Regions from separate parts of the Homo sapiens genome. Here region 2 is linked to region 1. The links are contacts of gene promoters, found by promoter capture Hi-C in blood cells and fetal thymus (Javierre and others, 2016). All regions are on one chromosome and are shown on one strand. The core of a region is centred on a gene start or on the middle of the fragment in contact, and the rest is flanking DNA. Distances in the headings are between cores, read along the strand shown. Region 1 holds the start of CNTNAP4 (contactin associated protein family member 4). Region 2 has its middle 15 kb from the start of MON1B.

The links. The method cuts DNA at HindIII sites, captures the fragments that hold promoters and counts their contacts. A CHiCAGO score of 5 or more calls a contact.
Region 2: a fragment that was not itself captured here is called in contact with the fragment with the promoter of CNTNAP4 in region 1 in 1 of 17 cell types (megakaryocytes); the score reaches 5.5 in megakaryocytes.

What each region holds. Positions count from the first base shown.
Region 1 is chr16:76,274,993-76,280,420 of GRCh38, reverse strand. It overlaps CNTNAP4 (contactin associated protein family member 4), which reads right to left and starts at 3,020. Exons shown (of 24, transcript NM_033401.5): 1 at 2,674-3,020. The coding sequence starts at 2,758. The HindIII fragment of the contact is 3,956 bases long and covers 1,787-5,428 here.
Region 2 is chr16:77,173,688-77,179,115 of GRCh38, reverse strand. No RefSeq gene overlaps it. Among named protein-coding and RNA genes, the nearest start is that of MON1B, 15 kb to the left of the region's middle. The HindIII fragment of the contact is 6,600 bases long and covers 1-5,428 here.

The DNA of each region.
Region 1 (5,428 bases), core at 1,771-4,270:
TCTACATACACATATACCTATATACAAATGAGCACATATACATATATGTGAACATATATGTTTGTCTTTGAACAGAATCCTTCTAATGTAAAGTTTCCCTGCTGTTTAATTGGATCAATTAACATTCAAATTAAAGTGCACCTAATCCCTGAGCTGTACTGGTTTTGCAGAGTTCTGTCCCATGAAAGCTTTCAAACTGGCAACCTTGGGCTGACTCTGTAGATGACAGATTTGCTCCTGGCTCATCAGCTGTAAATAAAGGGGAAAAGTCTTTCTAGTCCTTTAATTTTATTTATTTATATTCAGTTATTTCCAATATTACTATTGGTAGTCAAGACTGACTCACTTTTTCTTAATATAAAGTCTTGTCCAGAAGAATTATTGGAGTCATTATAATACTTTAGAAATGCATATGCTGGTTGATAGTTGCTTGTCCTTACACTAAATTCCAGTCTTGCTGGGAAATATATATACACTTGTCCTTCCAAAAAGGATGAAACATATGAAGTACTTTCCACCATGGCTTGGTACAAGTAGACCTTACTTCTTCCAAAAAGAAAATACTTCTTAAATATTGAAAAATGAAATAGAAATTGAGAAATGAAATATTTTCTTTTACACATACTGCTGCAAATCATATTGTCAAAATATTCACAATAAATTACTGAGTGCAACTTTAATTATATAAGGTCATTTCATTTTATTTTTGACACTTGAAGAACAGTCAACTCCACATGCATGGTAAGCAAGAACTCCAACTTTAAATGTTTTTTATAATGAAAAATCGTATAGGTTTTGCAAGTTCATCAGATGTTTAAAAGAGCATTAGACTACTTCCTTAACAAACCAAGGCTGAAAGAATATAGAACCAGCACTGAAATTTTAAGTGTCAGTGAGGGATCCAACCAGAGCCAAGCAGACATAAATATTACACTCTCCTCAGATCTCTTTCAGCACCTTTTCTTTTCTAAGAAGATATATGGCAAAAGAAAGCTATTTAATGTTGATGTACACCCTACACTTTTTATTGAGCTTCAAGAAAACAAGCAAACATAAACAACTAGCAGCCCAAATAATTAGATTAATGTATTTTAAACCCAACTACAGGCAGTCTAGTGGAAAGACTGAATGGAGTACAGGCCAGATTTAAGCTCTGCTTTTCTTGAGGGAAGGATGCTTGGGGTGATGTGCTTTACATTGTAAGAGTGACCTCTAGTGCTTTTCTTTTTGGTTGAACTTTAGTGGTTGGAAGATGAATTACTTATGCCTTTTCTACAGAACTTCCATTTGTGTGTGGGTGTTGTTGTTATTGTTTGCTTGTATGATGCAATGTTTTTCTAATGCTACCATTATAAGATTCCAAGGTTTTGACTAGGTGAAATTATACATTTTATTGACTTATGAGATTATCACAACACTCAAACTAAAGTTGAATCTGATGTGCAGCACCTGAAGTGAGGTTCCTTCTTTCAGAGTGATGGATACCCTGTGACATTAAATGAGCCCATTCTGAACTGAAACACGAAATCACGGGAGCCAGGTACTGTGAGGGGACATTTGACTTGTGCCCATGAGTTTGTCATGTTTTTCACATATCAGAACTCTTAACATAGTCAAGTGATATGCCATAGCAAATGTCTGATTACTGCCTCTGTTCCCCAAATCTAAGCCTGATGATACAGCAGCAACATAAATTCCTGGACAGGCCTCATAGCCAGTTCTTGGAAAGCAAATGAGCTTTTCCTTTAAAATCCAAGAAAAAATAAAAAGTTGTATTTGCCAAGCTTGTTTGTCATTAATCAGGAGGGGAAAATTCTCCCATTTAGAGAATTTAAGCCAAAGATAACTTTTAAAACTTTTTCTATCTCTAATAAAGAGTGGATGAAGGGAGTCTGCCAAATTATTATGGATGATATCTAAATTATAAATAAGATTTCAATCTTCCCTAAATAGGTTCTATTTCATCAGAACATTCAATTACAAATTTATGCAGTTAAGCATTCAACCACAAAGGAATCCTACTTTTGAAAGACCACCTGACTGGTTTTCCTTTAAGCGAAATGTAGGAAGAGGCTCCTCTTTCCGGAGAGCGCTAAGTCTCATTCTCTTAGCAGCGAGGGCACAGCTCTTAATACTGAGACTCGCCTCAGCCAGTGCTGGTGCTCCTGAAGCCTGCAGTACATTTCAGTTATTAGCCTGCATTATTTTAAAGATGCAGGCAGCTACTGGTCTGCCCAATTGCAAACTTCAGAAATCTAAGCCAATGCAGCATAATGTAAAGTCTGCCAGTTGTTTTCCTCTTAGACATAATTCCAATAAAATTCAGTAGTTCTTTAAAAAAGAAGAAATGAAGATATTCACAGGCTATTCCCCCGATAAGATGCTAATTTCATGTTTTACTAGAACTTGGGCATTCTCAATGAATACTCAAAGACCAGAGGGTAAGATTCTGCGAGTAGACAAAAAGAGAAATGACACTTTGCCTATTTTGACCAGACCAAGAGGAGAGACAAGTGTTAACCGGTCACATTGGCAAGATTTTTAAGTGATGCTTGGTTTACAGCAATACGCTTTGCAGCAATCCCAGCTGCAAATAATCATCATCAAACCAACAGAATCAAAGTTTTGCAGAGAGCCCCCCAGCAAGTTTTAAATCATTTGCTGTATACTTACAGGAATTCCCAGCTTCGACTCTGTTCCAATTTTGAGTAGATAACAGAAGTAGCGTCTTGAGGACAGCTCCCGTGACAGATCCCATGTTCACATTTATTGGGCTCCCCCAAAAGATCTTGAGAGGCTCTCAGAGCGCTCCAGTCCTCTTCTCAGTAGCTCTGCCAGCTCTGTCTGGGTCTTCAGCCCCTCTAGGTCTCTGTCTCTCCCCCTCCCTTCCTCCTCACCTCCCTCCGTCTTTTCTTCTTCCCTCCTCCCTCTCTTCTCTCTCCCTCTCTCTCTCCCCGTCTCTGTCTCTCTCTTTTCTCTCTCTCTCTCACACACACCTCCCTGACTCCTCACTGAAAAGCACTCAGCATCTTTCCTAACAAGCATCCACACCGCCGAGGCCACGCCCACTCCTCGCAGCAGCGGTCCCACAAATTGGCAGCAGCATCCTTCCTTCCAAACACACAACAGCGCTCGAGCTCCGCTGCACCCAGAGGCGCGGCCTCCCGTTCGTGGGCCTCCTTGGGGCTCCCTCCCTTCTCTTCTATTTTCCAATAATCCTTAACCCTTTTCTCCCAGCTGGAGGTGTGAGTGGGGGAAGGGACAAGGCGGTGGAGCCTTCTGATTTTCTGGAGGTCTTGCATTTGCAAGAGCCAGAAAACACACTGAGCCATTCCTGATTATCCGGGAGTGCATCCAGGTAAAATTGCATTATGTTTCAAAACAAAAGCATAAAATAAGACAGAAATAACTAAGCAGCATTGGGAAATTGTAGCTAAAACCGTCCTCAGGGAAAATACTTGCTGTTGTTTTTCTCTGTTTCTATAAAACTGTACTCTTCAGCGAGGGTGCCAGGATTTTATTATGGAAATTCCCCACATGGGAACAGACATTCCTGCTTAGCAGATATTTAAAATCATCTGGTAGTAGTCTGCAAGAAATTAACATTTCTTATTTTAATGCTTCAGGTGTATAAATCCACAAATGAAATGCTTTGGCTAGATTTATGTTGATGAATGCATCATGCTGTGAATATGAAGTACCATTCTATAATCAAAATTTTTAATAACATTTCCAAAAAGGCCCAAAGTAGGAAATGAGGGAATACTGAAGAAAGGGACCTCCACCACCACCACATACACACATGCATACACATTCACACAAACACTGAACAATGTGACGATGTAATTCAGGTGACTTAAAGGAGAGAGGAGTAAAGTTGAATTTGGAAGATCAATGATTAAAGAAAAATTACTCTTTGAATGGCTGGTCCATGGATACAACTGTTTCTTGAATGGAATTTTAAAATGTCTAAATAATGGAGTTACTATCACATAACAAGAAGCATGTCACATGGTTCATAGCAGATAAATAATCTATTTAAAATAAATGTCAAGATGTTTTACTGATAATGTGCTAGATTTTATACAAATGGAAATCCTGGAGTTCTTAAGTGCCTCTTGGTAATCACAAATTGGAAGAAACATAAGCCTTTAACACCACTTTCTTATGGAATAATGAGAGTGGGTTTGTCAAAGATCAGATAGGTTTGTCAAAGAGTGAGAAAATGACAGAAATACCCGTAAGAACTAAACATGCTTGTTTAGCTCATGCCTGCAAACAAAGCAGAATGCATCTTTTTTCTTTTCCTGTTTTACAAGAGAAAACAAGAACAGAGAATTTAAATGATTCGAAGAGGTCATAGAGTTAGTAATAAATGCTGAGGACTGGATTTGGCTTTTCTGACTCCAGTTTTACTGCTCTCACCCTAGGACTTATTGCCCCTAAATCAGAGTATACCTCCTTCCTGACCCTTGTCAGTGGCAGCAAAAACCTTAGGCCCTAGGAAAACACAGCAAACACTTTGGGAGGCCAAGGTGGGCAAATCACTTGAGGTCAGGAGTTCGAGACCAGCCTGGCCAACATGGTGAGATCCCATCTCTACTAAAAATAAAAAAAATAGCAGGGTGTGGTCGCAGGCAACTGTAATCCCAACTACTTGGGAGGCTGAGGCAGGAATTCGCTTGAACCCGGGAGGCAGAGGTTGCAGTGAACCAAGATTACACCACTGCACTCCAGCCTGGCCAATAGAGCGAGACTCTGTCTCAAAAAAAAAAAAAAAAAAAAAAAGGATAAATACAATAAAATAAAGAAAGGTCATGGGTTGAGTGTTTATTCTGTGTTCCTAGACTTGCATTCCTGATTTTATTTTTTCAATCATATGCTAAGTAAAAGCAGATATAAATTAACAGTTTATGTTAACTAATTATTGAAGGAGATTAAATTTTACTGAACACATACTATATGCCATTTGTTATCTAATTGAATAATTATATCAGTCCTTTGAAGAAAATATCATGTCTGTGGGACGGTTGTGGGCTCTCCAGAAGAAAAAAGTTGTCTCGTTGTTACAATATTGTATTTAATTGTTCTCTTAAAACAAATTAGAGAATGCATCTTAAATGGATAAGTACACATAGCAAAAATGAAAAATAAACATTTTATAACAATAATAACTTCTTTGGGACAATGTATAAATTATTATAGTGACCAATACTGGCGGATTTTTCCATATCAATGGGCTACAGTAATAGAAGGAATTGGGGGCTGGCCCTCAATAGAAGACCTGAGCATTTCAAGTCACTGCAAAACCTGTCTCTGCCTGATGGCTGCAGAGGGGTAGAGAGTTGCCTAGACAAATGAAACAGTGAGTGCTTGAGATATGGTAAACAGAGAGGCCTCAGCCGGGCGCGGTGGCCCACGCCTGTTA
Region 2 (5,428 bases), core at 1,873-4,372, 900 kb before region 1:
TTTCTATTATAAAAGACATAAAAAAATAAAAGACACATCAGAAGAGAGGATTTTAACAGTCAAAAGATAATAGGGACCATGATCATAACAAACAAGAACAGGTGAAAAAAAGTATTAAGAAAAATTAACATTCAAAATTTAGAAATAAAGCAAAAGATGAGATCCTGTATTTTCAGTGTCAAATGAAGGTCACTGTTAAGAGGTCTCATCCAAGGATTATTTATTTAAGACAATGCACCTGTGTTTAATTTTGTTCTTTATTGTTTGATGGGAACATTGATAATATAATTTTGTGCGTTAAGTTTTAGATTTGTTTGATCAGAACTCTAAACGCTAAAGGTGACTGTTTCGTCATCTTTAACATTAAGCGGGTTTGTATCTATTAACAAATTAATTTTCACATTCCATTGAGTGACTATTTAAATTTCTGTTCCTTAAATTCTAAATTGAAGATGAGGTGTACAAAGGAATCTTTGTATGTCTTTATTTTATGTTTATATGAAAATCCTGGTTTTAACTTTTTGAAATTATCCTTTGACAAAAGTCATTACTTTGTGAAGTTCAACAAGAAATACTAATGTTTTTAGACTATTTGGTAATAGAAAACTCACATCCCCTCTGTTCCTCTGAAAGCCTAATTTGCTATTGGCTCATAAACTGAACCAAAACTTTAAAGTTCCCAATGGACTCTACCTCAAAGATAAGGCCCTAGAGATAAAATGGTCCATCATCTCACCAAGATCAAGCCTTAATGTCGAGTCAAAAGCTATTATTTTGTTCTAAAACTAATTTTATATGTACACAAAAATAAATTTGAGAGTATAATTCCCATATCATAGAGCAAGAAGTTACAAAATTCTAAGATACTTTCATTTCCCACTTTATACAATTGTCATTTAAATATTTGAAAACATATTTGGTTAATATTCAAAATATATAAAGAACACATACAAGTCAATAGCAAAAAAAGCAAATAACCTGATTTGAAAAGTGGTCAAAGGTTCTGAATAGCCGTTCCTCCAAAGAAAACATACAAATGGCCAACAGGTATATAGAAACGTGCTCAACATCACTGATCATCAGGGAAATGCAAACCAAAACCACAATAGGATATCACCTCATACCTGTTAGGATGGCTGCTATTAAAAAAAAAAACAAAACCCAAAACATAAATGTTGGTGAGAATGCAGAGAAAATAAAACACTTGTACACTCTTGGTGGGAATTTAAATTGGTCCAGTTGTTATGAAAACCACAGTGTATATTCCTCAAAACATTAAATATATAACTACCGTATAATCCAGCAACGCCACTTCTAGGTATATATACAAGGGAATTGAGATGAGGATCTTGAAGAGATATCTGCATTCCCATGTTCATTGCAGCACTATTCACAATAGCCAAGAAAAAGAAACAACCAAAATATTCACTGATGGATGAGTGAATTAAAAAAACATGGTGCATACCTACAATGCAATATTATCCATCTTTAAAAAAGAATAAAATTCTGCCATCGGTGACAACATGAATGGATCTGGAGGGCATTCTGCCCAGTGAACACCAAATACTGTATGATCTCACTTACATGTGAAATTTAAAATAGCGAAACCCTGAAGCAGAGAGTAGAATGGTGGTTGCTAGAAGTTGAGGTGAGGGGTAGTTGGAGAGGGAGTGGTTAATGCCTACAAGGTTTTATTTACACAAGGTAAGTTCTGGTGAGCTGCTATACACGATAAAACCTACAGCTAACAATATTGTATTGTATGCTTAAAATTTGCTAAAAGGGTAGGTGTTGTGTTCTTACCACCAAAAATAATAATAATAAAGAAGACAGGAGGAAATTTTGGGAGGTGATGGATATATTTGTGCCTTGGTAGTGGTGAGAGTTTTATGGGTATATACTTATCCCCAAACTCATCAAGTTGTATACTTAAAAATGAACAGCTTTTTATATGTTAAAACATATTTGAAAATGAGTATACATTAACTTTAAATAACATAACAATAATTAAATCCTACATTAAACAATGCTGGTTTTCAATAATGTTTGAATAATGTTACTTGTCTATGACATTAATTCCTACTCTAACCCTTTGCCATCATCATGGATAATTCAGAATTGACTAACTCACTTAAATGTTTTCTTTCATTGGATACTTAAAGGATAGTAAGAATAATAACACCACTGCCACCACCACCACCATCAATCCATCGAACCAATATTGTGTAATATAGAGAGAATGTCTGATATATATACATTATGTTATATATTATGTATATATTACATATATACATTATCTTATATAATATGTACATATATTACATATAGATACATTATCTTGTTTCATCTCCAGAACAACCCTTTGGAATGGATATAGCCAACCCATTTTAGAGTTGAAGTACACAGATGTTTAGAAAGTTTAAATTATTTAGCCAAGTCAAACTTGAATTCGCATGTGAGATTTCATGCCACCCAATCCCACGCCTTATCTACTATTCCTCCCCACTTTAGCTCTCCCTTACAGTGTTCCTATTAAAATGCAAAAACATGAGCAATTTCCAGGCCACAATTATCTCAGTATTCTTTTGGATAAATCTCATCTGGCCACCAAAAACTTAGACGGTGTAAATTGCAGCATTCATCATGCTAGGTGTTGTATGACACCTAGCATGTGTATGACACCCTCACATGACGGGTGAGTAACTTTGTCTTCACAGGTCTCCAGATCTGTTTCCCTGTGGAAGTAATGAAGCCCGTCAGTATCATCACTCTTCAAAGAATTAGGAAAGAAGAAGGAGCACAAAACCATTTCCAAGTTACCTGCTGCCAGCAAAATAAGATTTGAATAGGTTTTCTAATGTTTCAAACTACTTCCTTTCAGACGGCTAAGAAATTCATAAAACCAGCCATGAGAGTTATATTGCCTGCAAGTGTAAACAGTTTTGATAGAGGAGTAACTGCCTACTCAGAAAGCCTTTTGAGAAGAGACTGATACGACTTTATACATCTCAGAGAGAGGGAAGAGGGCCTTTTTGATCATTCTCATGCAAATTTCCAATAGCTGACAGAAAGCTGCTTTAGGTTGTCCCATATTTTCTTTTTAAAATGCATATGGAACGCGTAGCTTAGAAGTAATGCTTTCCTTTTGAAGATTTTTTTTTCTTAAATTTGAAACAATTATGGGTGTTAGACTTTTCCTCTTTAAATAGATATTTTCCTTATAACTTTCCCCCTGGAAAATTCCTTTATCATTAAGACAACAAACCAATGCAATTGACTTCTGGATTTGTTTATCGGAATGGGTCAAAGTCACTTCTTCCTTCACTCCATCTTGTATGTAATCAGAAAAAAGAAGCCCATAGCATCAGCACTATCTGCCTCATTTCTCCTTCTTTGGATTTCAATAGAGACACACTTAATGGTCTCCTGAGTCAGCTGAAGGAGGTAGAAAGTTGCTGTTTAGAATCTTCTTTTTAAAAAATATTTTAACATATATATATGATATCACATATATCTTATTTCGATAGCTTTTGGCCCCCAAATGGTTTTTGGTTAAGTGGATGAATTATACAGTGGCGAGTTCTGAGATTTTAGTGCACCCATCATCCGAGTAGTGCTTGTTCTATCTACTATGTAGTTTTTTATCCTACATCCCTCTCCCACCTTCTTCCGAGTCTCCAAAGTCCATTAAATCACTCTGCATGCCTTTGCATCTTCATAGCTTAGCTCCCACTTATAAGTGAGAACATATGGTATTTGATTTTCCATTCCTGAGTTTCTTCACTTAGAATAATGGCCTCCAGCTCCATTCGAGTTGCTGGAAAAGACATTATTTCATTCCTTTTTAGGGCTGAGTAGTATTCTATGATGTATATATGCCATATTTTCTTTATCCACTCATGGGCCAATGGGCACTTAGGTTGGTTCCACATCTTTGCAGCTGTGGATTGTGCTACAATAAACATATGAGTGCATGTGTCTTTTTTTTATATGGCTTCTTTTCCTTTGGGTAGTGGGATTTCTGGATTGGATGGTAGACCTACTTTTAGTTATTTAAGTAATCTCCATACTGTTTTCCATAGACGTTGGACTAATTTACGTTCCCACCATAGACATTTCTCAAGAAGACATACAAATGGCCAAAAATCATATAAAAAATGCTCAATATCACTAATCATCAGGGAAATGCAAATTAAAACCACAATGAGATTCCATCTTACTCCTACAAAAACGGGCATTATTAAAGAGAGTCCTCTTTGGTCGGGTGTGGTGGCTCACGCCTGTAATCCCAGCACTTTGGGAGGCCAAGTCGGTGGATCAGGAGGTCAAGAGTTCGAGACCAGCCTGGCCAACATGGTGAAACCCCGTCTCTACTAAAAATATGAAAATTACCTGGGCGTGGTGGTGGACTCCTGTAATCGCAGCTACTCGGGAGGCTGAGGAAGGAGAATTGCTTGAAACCAGCAGGCAGAGTTTGCAGTGAGCTGAGATCGCTGGCCACTGCACTCCAGCCTGGGCGTAAGAGCAAAACTCCGTCTCAAAGACAAACAAACAAAAATTCTTCTTTTGTTTAATTATCTGTGACCTATTTCTCCAAGCACAGTCCCTTCTGTGTAGCCTCTGATTCTCTGACCACTCTGATGGGTCATTGTCAGGTGAAGTGGGATCTCTTACTGGTAGTATTACTCCAGCTCTCTCCTCAGTTTTCTGAAATAATGGTATGATTCTGTACCCTACAAGTGGTATTCCCCAGTCAGATAGGGAGCAGGAGTGCCTTTGCTCAAGCCCTTCCTCCGGGATGGGGTACTCCTCTCCTTCCAAATAAATATTACAAGTACAGCTTCAATGCTGCCTCCTCTACTGACAGAACTCGTTCTCTCCAGCAGGCATCTCAGAATTTTTCTGAACATTTGACAGACGTAATCATCAGGCCCAAAGAGGAGACTGGGACTTCACTGTTCTCTAATTATTTTTGGGTAACTTATATTTCATTGATTTTATTTTCTTATTATTAGAATACATATTTATTGGGGTCCTGTGGGAGATGATTGAAGATTTAGAGCCCACAGTCCCTGCCCTTAACAAACTTCCAGTTTTCTGGAGGATGCAGACAGGTCAACGTTTGCAGCTCAAAAGGATAAGTCTACTTAAATTCAAGTTGTTCCAAATGGAAACTCATCTCCTTTTCCCAAACTTGTTTCTTCTCTTAATGTTACCAGAAGTTAGTCCCACAGTGACTTATGTCCCTCACCTTGGGGTCACCCTTGTCTCTGCCTTCTCCCACATACCTAGGTCCAATTATTAATGATCAACTCAGTACTCTCAGAACTTGGATGAGTTCTTAGAGTAAACCACACTGTCTCTTCTGCCTGAGTATTCTCCATTAGTTTGGCAAAACTGGAAGAAAAGCATCTATGAAAACTAAGGT